2 separate regions of the Homo sapiens genome follow, and region 2 is linked to region 1. The links are contacts of gene promoters, found by promoter capture Hi-C in blood cells and fetal thymus (Javierre and others, 2016). All regions are on one chromosome and are shown on one strand. The core of a region is centred on a gene start or on the middle of the fragment in contact, and the rest is flanking DNA. Distances in the headings are between cores, read along the strand shown. Region 1 holds the start of LY6H (lymphocyte antigen 6 family member H). Region 2 has its middle 6.3 kb from the start of ZFP41.

Region 1 (5,367 bases), core at 2,472-4,971:
TCTTTCTCTCTGTCACTTTTTCTTTTTTCCATTCATCTGCTGATGGACACAAGTGGATTCCATGTCTTGGCTGTTAGGAATAATGCTGCAATGGATATGGGCATGCAGGCCTCTCTTCAAGATACTGATTTCTATTTATCTGGCTATATACCCAGAACTGGAAGTGCTGGGTGGCAAGGTAGCTCCATGTTCAATTGTTTCAGGAACTTCCATACTGCTTTTCCTAATGGCTGCACTAATTTACATTCCCACCAACAGTGCACAACGGTTCTCTTCTCCACATCCTCACCAAAAATTGTTATCTCTGTCTTTTTGATGGCAGGCATTCTAATAGGCAGGAGGTGATCTCTCCTTGTGATTTTAATTTGCATTTCCCTGATGATTATAATGCTGAACATTTTTCCATACACCTGATGGCATTGTATGCCCTCTTTTGAGAAAGGTTTATTCTGCTTCTGGCTCATTTTTTAATTGGCCTATTTGTTTTCCTGCTATTGAGTTGTTTTCTAAACTTTTAATTTTCTGAAAATTCTATTTTACACTTATTTTTGGAAAATATATCAAGTTCTTAGTGACAGTTATTTCCCTCTGAGCCCTTTACAGATCCGATTTTCCTCTCCTTTGGCTGTCACTGGGGCTCCTGGAATTCTGCTGGCAATCTTATTGCTGTTTCCTGGGAGCTGATCTTCCTTTTCTTTTTGGCTGGCTTAAAGGTCTTCTGCAATTTCACTCTGTCATCTAAACTTTATTTTTCTTTATTCTATTTAGTCCATGTTGTGCCTCTCTGTGCATACTTATTTTTTATCAGTTCTGAAATATTCTCAGGCATAACTTCTTCAATGATTGACTCTCTTTCCTTTGAGATTTCAACCAGACTTCCATAAGCTCTCTGCACACCATCTTTTTGTTTTATTTTATTTTAGTTTTTTCTTTTCTTCTTTTCTTGCTCAGACTTAAGTGGGCATCAGGAAAACACCATCTTTTATGTTTCTTATTTTCCCTATTTTCTATTTCCTTATCCTTTGTGCTACATTCTTGGTAATTTTTTAAAGATTTATCTTCTAGTTTATGAATTCCCTCTTCAGTTGTGTTTAATTTGCTGCGTAATCTGTTTGCTGAGTATTTTTTTAAACACCTTTATTGAGATATCATTCACATACCATAGCATTTACCCTTTTAAATATACAAGCCAGGGGTCTGTAGTATATTCATAGAGTTGTGTGACCATAATCACTATTTTTAGAACATTTTCATCACTCCTAAATGAGTGCTTTTATCACTTTATTTATTAGTAGTGCCTATTACCAGTCCCTAAGGAGGACTGATTCCCCTATCCCACCCTTCTAGCACAAGGCAACCACTAAGCTACCTTCTGTCTCTCTTGGATTGTTTATTCCGGACATTTCATAAAAAGAAAACCACACAATGTGTTTTCTTGTGACTGGCTTCTTTCAGTTACCGTAATTCTTTCAAGGTTTCTGCTGACCTTTTCATTTCAATGAAAAGTTTTTCATTTCTAGAGGTTCTATTTTTTTCTGATAAGCATGGTGATTGGTTTCATAGTGCTTTGTTCCTTATTTTAATATATCTTAAGCATAACAAATAGGTTAATTTTATATCCTATATTTGATATTTTCCATTTAGAAAGTTTGTGGTGATTTAAATCTGTTGCTCGTCACTGTCAGCTGAGTCTCACTTGGAGGCTTGCTTTCTTTAGACATGTGCTGATTTTTCATTTTGAACTCATATTTGATTCAGTTAAATCTGTGGGAACCTCAGTCCCTAAGTTGGGGCTTGCTTTCTCCAGAGTATTCATCGTTGGTTTTGCTTTTGCAAGCAGGGATGCTACTGACCTGGGACCACCCTGGCTCCCCGGAGGGCTCTGTGTGGGTGCCAAGTGGAGGGTGCAGGAGAAAGCATCCCTCGGGGCAGCCCTCAATCAATGACTCTTGGGTGTCGCTGTGAAATACCTGTTCCCTCATCCCTTGGGTGAGTTCACCTGAGGCTCACAGTTTACACCACTTCCCAGAGTACCTCTCTGGGGTCAGGCTCCATTTCCCCACTGCGGGGGGTTGCTGAGTACCACATGCTTGCCAGCCTCCTTCCCCACCCTGGACCACTTCCCCACTCCCCAGGGCTGCTATCCCCACCTCCAACCAAAGGGCTTGCTCTGGAATCCCTGCCTCAGGCTCTGCTTCCGGGACCTCAGACCCCGTGGGGGTCCAGGTCTGCCCAGGACCACTGTGAGTTTCACATCTGCCTCCTGCTCAGTGGGCAGACTTTGGGAGTCCATTATTCTATTTACTTCTTTCTTTATGGACTCAGATTTCTTTTACTTTCTTGCGAGCTCTGTATGTTTTGAAAAGAATTGTGTTTGAACCTTGATCTAGCTCTTGCCCTCTGCACCTTATGAATCTCAACTCCTCATTCAGTTCTCGGCTAAAGTATCAGGTCCTGGGAGAAGCTCTCCCTGACCCTGAGGCAAAGCACGCTCCTGTGGTGGTCTCTTGTCCATCTCGTCCTTGCCTCCACCCCTCTGGAGCCACAATGGAGCGGAGGTGTGCAGTCCCTGTAGCCCAAGCTGCTTGGGTTCCCACTTCAGCTGGGTCACCTGTCACCTGCGTCACTGTGTGACCCCGAGCAGGGAGCGCCGCCTTTCCGTGTGAGTCTCCTCATCTGTGAGATGGAAATGATACTATCTGCACAGCAGGGCTGTGGTGAGACTATAAGGAGATAATAAATATGAAGTGTCTAGAACAGGTGGAATCCATAGTACATGCTCAATAAATGTTAGCTCTGTCACATCCTGCAAAGATATGCTGCAGTAGGCATCACCATTTGTCCAAGGGGAGAGTCAGGAGGGCAGAAACCAGGTCTCTCTCCTCATGCCCTTTCCCAGGGCTCAGGGCAGGGCTAGGGCAGCAGGGAGCATGCAGTAAACATTTTCAGGTCAAATGAAAGGGAGCAGGACCAAAGGCACGATGGCAGATCGGGGCTTCCCCAGTGCCCCGGGGAGGCGGATTTCAGGCACAGGGACACGTGCAAAGGCACAGCTTTTAGGGAGCTGGAGGGCAGGGCGGGAAGGCCAAGGAAGCCGAGAAACGGGTCCAAGGCTCGGATGCTCTGGCCAGGATTTGTACCTTTACCTCCGAGTGTGGGAGTATTTGGCGACAGAAGCCCCTGGGGCTGCGGCTTCTGGTGGGGGTCTTCATGGATGCTCAGGGGAGGAGAACGGCCTGGAGCCACTGGAAACGGGGAAACGGGGAAACGGGTATGAGGTTGGGGAGGGGCGGGGAGGAGGGGGAGGGCGGGGCCCCAGGGCGGGAGTCTGACCCCAGGGGTCTGCGAACCCGGACCTGCGCGTGGCGCCGCGCCGGGTACCTCCCCCTCTCTGCGTCTTTGTGCATTTTGCTTCCTTTCGCAGTAAACGTTCTTCCGAGAAATTCCAAGGGGATCTCAGCCAAGCAGAGGGGGAAGGGATCCTGCCCACGCCTGGGTAGGGGGCCGCGGAGGCTGGGGAGGAGCAGGGGGCGCCGCGAGGGAGGGAGCGGGAACCCGAGGGAGCGCGCGCGCCAGCAAGGGGGCGCGGAGGGCCCGGGCCAGCTACCTGCGTGGGGGCCGCGAGCCCCGGGCGCCCCCCGCCCCGCGCGTCTCCCAGCCGCCCCCGCCCCCCGCGCGGCCCCCGCCCCGGCTCCGCCCCGCCCCTCGCGCGGGGTCCGCGTCTGCGGCTGCGTTCCCCGAAAGACGAGGCTGCGCCCGGATTCCGGTCCGCAGGGAGACCGAAGGGCACAGCTCCCCGCGCCGCGCACGCCGCCCGAGCCCGGAGTGCGGACACCCCCGGGATGTGAGTGAGCCCCCCGACCCCGAGGCCCGCGCTCCACGCCCCATCCGCGGTGAGCGCCGAGGCGCGCGCGGAAGGCCAAGGGAGGGGACTCGGCCCGGGGTTCCCGGCCCCCCAGCCCAGGGGTGGGGGTGGGGACCTGGCACGCGCCCCTCCCCCCAGTGGCAGGTCCCACCCGCTCCCGCCCCTGCCGCTCATTCCTGTCCGGACGCACCTGCAGCTCCCCGGGGAGAAGAGGACGCCCCCCATCCGCTCCCCCACACAGGTGCCGGCGCGGGGCGGAGGCGTCTCGAGCTGTCACCTCGCCCCAGAGGCCAGACGTCTCCCGGCGGGGATGCTGTGACGGCGGACGCTCTGGAGAAGGGGCTGGGGGTGGGGCTCTGCGAGCTCCGGGCGGACCCCGGCCTTGGATTCCGGGGAGAAGGTTGCATCCTGAGGCTGGGAAAGGAGAGGGTCTTTGGGGTCTCCTGACCGATGCTTCTCCCCTCCAGGCTTGCGCCCCAGAGGACCCGCGCCCCAAGCCCCCGCGCCGCCCCCAGGCCCACCCGGAGCATGCTGCCTGCAGCCATGAAGGGCCTCGGCCTGGCGCTGCTGGCCGTCCTGCTGTGCTCGGCGCCCGGTGAGTAGGGGGCCCGCGGGCTGGGTCAGGTGCCTGGGAGAGCCCGAGGCGCCGCGGGAGAGCCGGGTGTGGGGCTGCCACCCTCTGACGGTTCCCACCGCACTTCGCATAGAGCCCACGCCCCCTCCGGGACCCCTGCGACCCCAGCCCGGCCCTCGGCCCCTCTGCCCCGGCACTGGGCTCTCTCCAGCGCTCTTCCTCCAGGGCCTGGAACTGGTGGGCGGCTGGCCCCGCACGGAAGCCCTTGGTCATCCGTCACCTCTGAGAGCCTCCCGGGCCTCCTTTCAAATCCAGTTTGGTCCTTCACAGCTTGGAACCCACGGACCTCTGGGGGGGATATGTGAGGCGGGGCGGGAGTGTGAGGGGGGCACTGTCGGTGTGGGGTCTGTATAGCCCGTGTGTGTGTTTGTGTGTGTGTGTGCACGCACGTGCATGGGGGCCAGGGAGGGGCCATAGGGGCTCCCCTCAAACTGCCAGGATGGGGCACAGTTGTCCCAGGGCCTCTGCTCCCCCTCCAGGGGTCATGGGGGCCTGCTCCCTCCCGTGGGGTCGGGCTCTCCCAGGAGTGCCTGCAGCAGGGGGATGGGTGGGGGGCGCAGGGGGCTGCCTGGTTTGGACCCCAGTGCCTCTGGTCACCCTCCTCCCCATGCCCTGCCCAGCTCATGGCCTGTGGTGCCAGGACTGCACCCTGACCACCAACTCCAGCCATTGCACCCCAAAGCAGTGCCAGCCGTCCGACACGGTGTGTGCCAGTGTCCGAATCACCGATCCCAGCAGCAGTAAGTTGGGACTTAGGGTGGTGGGGAATGTGCTAAAAGCCAGGCTCTTGAGAGAGGTCAGAGGTGTCCTCGGAGCCCCTCTGGCCTGGGACGAGAGTGAGAGCGTGGGGCGGCAGGCAGGATACTGT
Region 2 (5,527 bases), core at 1,232-3,731, 81 kb before region 1:
TTCCCTTTTCTTCCTCCCCCTCCCCCTCCTCCCCTCCCCCTCATCCCCCTCCCCCTCCCCCTCCTCCTCCCCCCCTTCTCCTCCTCCCACTCCTCCTCCTCTTCCTGGTGTTTTTTTTGAAGTCATGCCATTTCAACTTTGTCAGAACACACACAGCACATATGGTTCTTCCCCTCTCGACTGCACTTCTCTTTCTATGTTGGGTCTACCATTCAATGTATCACCCCCGTGGGTCTTACGGCTGACCCGTAAGCAGCTTGTGGTTGGAGGAAGCCCATCTAGGAGGTTCCTCCTGATGGGCCTATAGTTGCAGGACCCCTGAGCTCTGGCAAGTTTAAAACTGCTCTCTTGAAGCTGTAATTCCTTGAAGGAAAGCTTGAATGGCTGCACAGTTCGTTGTTTTCTCCCTTTTCTTGAGATTTTTGAAAATGCTGCTTCGTTGTTGCTATGTTCATTTTTATTGATTTTGAGGAGTTTCAGGCCCATCTAATTCTCATGCTCCTGAAAGTTATTTGATGTTTCTGCCTGGAAGCCCTGATTTTTGCAGTATATTATGTAGGGTCCAGCCCCACAGGGTCGGTGGGTTGGGAATTTTCTTTTTCTTTTTTTTTTTTTTTTTGAGATGGAGTTCCGTTTTTGTTGCCCAGGCTGGAATGCAATGGTGTGATTTTGGCTCACTGCGGCCTCTGCCTCCCGGGTTCAAGTGATTCTCCTGCTTCAGCTTCCCAAGTAGCTGGGATTACAGGCATGTGCCACCACACCCGGCCAATTTTGTATTTTTAGTAGATACAGGGTTTCTCCATGTTGGTCAGGCTGGTCTTGAACTCCTGACCGCAGATGATCCGCCTGTCTCGGCCTCCCAAACTGCTGGGATTACAGGTGTGAGCCACCACACCTGGCATTATTTTGGGAATTTTCATAAGCTAAATCATCTTTTCATTTTCCCCTTTCTTTTTATAGTGGTTTTAAATAGATGAAGTTACCCCTTAGCATGTCTGTGGACAGAAGTTTCAGTTATTTTATGAGATTCTTAGTCCAAGAGGGACCTTTCATGTCAGGGTAACAAGGTATGGTTTCTTTACTTAGTGCCTGTTATTTTATTTATTTCTCTATTATTTATTTATTTTTTGCAGGGGGTGAGGGGAGTCAGTGGAGAAGGGTGCTGTGAGGTTTGATTTTTTTTTTCTTTTTTTTGAGATGGAGTCTTGCTCTGTCGCCCAGTCTGGACTGCAGCAGCGTGATCTCGGCTCACTGTAGTCTCCACCTCCAGGGTTCAAGGAATTCTCCTGCCTCAGCCTCCCAAGTAGCTGGGACTACAGGCGTGCACTACTGTGCCCGGCTAATTTCTGTATTTTTTGTAGAGATGGGGTTTCACCATGTTGGCCAGGATGGTCTTGATCTCCTGACCTCGTGATCTGCCTGCCCCTGCCTCCCAAAGTGCTTGGGTTACAGGTGTGAGCCACTGTGCCTGGTCGATGTTTGACTTTTTAAAAAGGTCTTTTGTCTTTCAGCATCTTAATTTCCCCTTCTTGCTTCTTTTTCTCTTTAGTACCTGACTTTCAAAGGCTGCACCTCCCTAACTTTTTTTTTTTTTGAGACGGAGTTTCACTCTTGTTGCCCAGGCTGGAGTGCAATGGCACAATCTGGGCTCACTGCAACCTCCGCCTCCTGGGTTCAAGTGATTCACCTGCCTCAGCCTGCCGAGTAGCTCGGATTACAGGCACCCACTACCACGCCCAGCTAATTTTTTGTATTTTTAGTAGAGACAGGTTTTCACCATGTTGGCCAGGCTGGTCTTGAACTCGTGACCTCAGGTGATCCACCCACCTTGGCCTTCCAAATTGCTGGGATTACAGGGGTGAGCCACTGCACCCGACTACTCCTCCCTAACTTTTAACCCTCTTCTCTCCTGCGTTACCTTCCCAAGACTATCCTCCTGTGTCCCACAGTCTTTTACTATTTTGGCTACCAAGTCTCACTCTGTTGCCTCAGCTGGTCTAAAACTCCTGGGCTCCAGCAGTCCTCCCACCTCAGCTTCCCAGAGTGTTGGGATTACAGTCGTGAGCCGCTGCACCTGTTCCATAGTCATTTTAAATTTCTTTCCAAAATGTAGACACTTTTCTGTATTTTGGCACTCAGATGGACTTTCTTTTTCTGGAAAATGTTTTGAGAGCAACCTCAGGCCCACAGCCAGTTCCTTTTCTCTCTTCTGTGCAGTTTTCCTGGGTGGCCCTTACTTTGTGAAGGTCTGTGCAGGACACTGGAGAGAGAGCTCACTGGGATTTTGTGTTTTCTTTTCTTTTCTTTTTTTTTTTTTGAGACAGATTTTCGCTCTTGTCCGCCAGGCTGGAGTCCAGTGGTGCAATCTCGGCTCACCGCAACCTCCGCCTCCCGGGTTCAAAAGATTCTCCTGCTTCAGCCTCCCAAGTAGCTGTGATTACGGGCACGCACCACCACATCCAGATAATTTTGTGTTTTTAGTAGAGACGGGGTTTCTCCATGTTGGTCAGGCTGGTCTTGAACTCCCAATCTCAGGTGATCCACCCACCTCGGCCTCCCAAAGTGCTGGGATTACAGGCGTGAGCCACCGCGCCTGGCCTGCGTTTGCTTCTTTTTCCCTTTTTAATGCGGCTACGAGAACCTTAGCAGTGACCCCAGGACTGCTGTGCTGAACTCCTGAACCGCAGTGTTCGCTTCTTTACTGCCCAAGGATAAGAGCGTCAGCTCCACCAGGGTGCTTCACAGACAGCGGGCGCTCAGCTAGTGCCTGTGGACTGATTGACTGGCTGACTGATGAGCCCTGGGGTGCGGGTCCTCCTGGGGCCCAGGACTTGCACTGGAACCCCTGTGGGCATTGAGCCTGGGATACCAGCCTCAGTGGGTGACTGAGCCACTGACACTGCCCCTGGAGAGCCCATCGCCCTGGTGCCCTGTGCCTGTGGCATCCTTCTCCGCAGCGGCTGGCACAGGCAACAGCTGTGGCTGAGATCCTCCCGGCATCCTGGGCACAGGCATCAATCACCTAGTTTCGTGCTTGACTCACTGCTGGTGGTGTCTCCACTTTGCAGATAAAACAATGAAGGCTCAGAGGGTTTAAGAAACTCGACAGTGTCAAAGCACTGGGCCTGGACATCAGCACCACTGCTGGCTGTGTGCCTTGGGATGGTCAGTAGATTTCCTGTCAAATGGGGCAAGATGATAGCACCTGCCCTGTGGGGTCATTGTGAAGGCTACGTGAAAAGTCCTCACAAAGCCCTTAGTGCAGTACCCACTTGCTAAACTTGGCTTGTAATTTATAAGTTATTTTAAAATGGGGGCAATGTGCCCACTGGCTGCACCCATGGCCGTCTCGGGAGCTGCCATTGTCAGTGACTGGTGTGGGGCCAATCAGCACCTCTGCCCTCATTTCACTCTCTCTCCAGCCCAAACGTTCAAGGGGCTTAAAGAATCTTCCCACTGGATGGACTGAGCCATCCTAAAACCATCCTAAAACAGCGCCACACTTTTAGAAGCCAGAATCTAACTTTTAGAAGTTAGAAAGTTTTGATTCCGGTCGGGCGCGGTGGCTCACGCCTGTAATCCCAGCACTTTGGGAGGCCAAGGCAGGTGGATGATGAGGTCAGGAGTTTGAGACCAGCCTGACCAACACGGCGAAACCCCGTCTCTACTAAAAATACAAAAAAAATTAGCCGGACATGGTGGCGGGCACCTCTAATCCCAGCTACTTGGGAGGCTGAGGCAGGAGAATCGCTTGAACCCAGGAGGCCGAGGTTGCAGTGAGCTGAGAATGTGCCACTGTACTCCAGCCTGGGCGATAGAGCAAGACTCTGTCTAAAGAAGAAAAAAAAGTGAGTTTTGATCCCAAGGACATTCCAGTCATACTAATGGATCCGTCAGGGTTGCATCAGAGGAACAGAGCCCACAGAGACAGGTGTGTAGACGCAGGCCTGCGCTTTGCTTTGTTCCAGGGCTTGGACCTCCCAGGACTGTGGGGCCTGCTGAGCGGTGTGCTGGAGCCTGGATCCACAGGCAGGCGCCCAGAGTCTCGGACAGCAGGTGGGATGGAGCCAAGGCAGGCGGGTCTGGGTCTGGATTCCAACCCCTGCACCCCACTGCTGATGTGGGCAAGCTCCTCAACTTCAGATGCCCTCAGCGTTCCCACCCGCACGATGTTCAGATGCCCTCAGTGTTCCCTCCTGCACAATGTTCAGATGCCCTCAGCGTTCCCTCCTGCACAATGTTCAGATGCCCTCAGCGGTCCCTCCTGCATGACGGGGTAGGAACAGGATCTCATGGGATCTTCAATGAAGACCAAATGGTGTGAAGATGGAGGATGCCCAGGATGGTGTGGGGCATGGCAGGGCCTAGGGAGTGCCCAGGTCTTCCCTGCCTGGCGGGACAGCTGCTACCTTGGTTTTCACGCCCTTTATGGCATTGGTTCCTAAACCTGCTCATAATCAGAATCAGTTTGGAATCTTTTTAAGAAAAAAAAAAAAAAAAAAAGGGATTTCCAGACATCATCCAAGAGCTGGTCAAACAGAATGCCATTGGGGTTAAGCCTCATAACCTGTAATTTTAGAAGCTTCCCAGTGACTCTGATGATCAGGCAGGGCCTGAGTGGCAGCAGATGGCACAAGCTCCCTGGTGCAGTGGGGCACAGCTCGGGCTGTTCATTTGAAACTCCTAAGAGCTTGGAGAAATGCTGACCAGTCCCCCACCTCTAAGAGATCCCACTGTAGCTGGGGTAGGGGCAGAGGGGCTGGCATCTAGCATCAGCGTTTTGAAAAATCACCCCCAGATGATTCTTGTGTGTGGCCGGGGTCCAGAATCTCTGTTTTGGAGCACAGGCGAGGAGACCGCGTGAACAAGTGAACCGGTGAGGCTTTTGCATGCAGAGCAAGCAAGAGACACAAAAATGTCAGGCCACTAAGCAGAATCATTCTTCCATGAAACCCCAGCTCCTTACCTGTGAGCACATTCCTTAATTATATGTCACACCAATTTAATTGGAAAAATTAACACCCGCCCCTCGGGCTTATAATCTATGACAAGACATTGGTGGTAAATCCATTTATTCTCCAATTACGTAATCTTTCCCATGTTCACCCACTAACGGACTCACTCAGAGGTAACTTATCCAGGGTGGCACAGGCTGGGCAGTAGAGGAAGCTCCCTTCCAGCATAAACCCACTCTCTGAGCTAATTCTAGAACTTACATGGACATACCAAAAGGCTGCAGTTTGTCCAGCTCTTCCACGCTACATTTAAAAGTCCTTTCTCAGGATCATTGCAAGGTTTCTTTTTTCTTTCTTTTTTTGAGACAGGGTCTCGCTCTGTCACGTAGGGTGGAGTGCAGTGGCTCCATCTCTGCTCACTGCAGCTTCAACCTCCCTGGGTCAAGCGATCCTCCTGCCCCAGCCTCCTGAGTCGCTGGGACCATGGGCGTGCAACGGCATGCCTGGCTAATTTTTTCATTTTTTTTTTTTTTGTAGAGACGAGGCCTTGCTATGTTGCCCAGGCTGATCTC

Evidence for each region. Contacts are between HindIII fragments. The CHiCAGO score rates a contact against its expected background, and 5 or more counts as called.
Region 2: a fragment that was not itself captured here is called in contact with the fragment with the promoter of LY6H in region 1 in 6 of 17 cell types (endothelial precursors, naive CD4 T cells, non-activated CD4 T cells and 3 more); the score reaches 9.1 in endothelial precursors.

What each region holds. Positions count from the first base shown.
Region 1 is chr8:143,158,675-143,164,041 of GRCh38, reverse strand. LY6H (lymphocyte antigen 6 family member H) reads left to right here and starts at 3,721. Exons shown (of 4, transcript NM_001135655.2): 1 at 3,721-3,844; 2 at 4,333-4,460; 3 at 5,120-5,239. The coding sequence starts at 3,843. LOC124902035 (a long non-coding RNA gene) reads right to left here and starts at 4,173. Exons shown (of 2, transcript XR_007061136.1): 1 at 4,056-4,173; 2 at 1,121-3,245. The HindIII fragment of the contact is 16,430 bases long and covers 1-5,367 here.
Region 2 is chr8:143,237,908-143,243,434 of GRCh38, reverse strand. No RefSeq gene overlaps it. Among named protein-coding and RNA genes, the nearest start is that of ZFP41, 6.3 kb to the left of the region's middle. The HindIII fragment of the contact is 4,207 bases long and covers 378-4,584 here.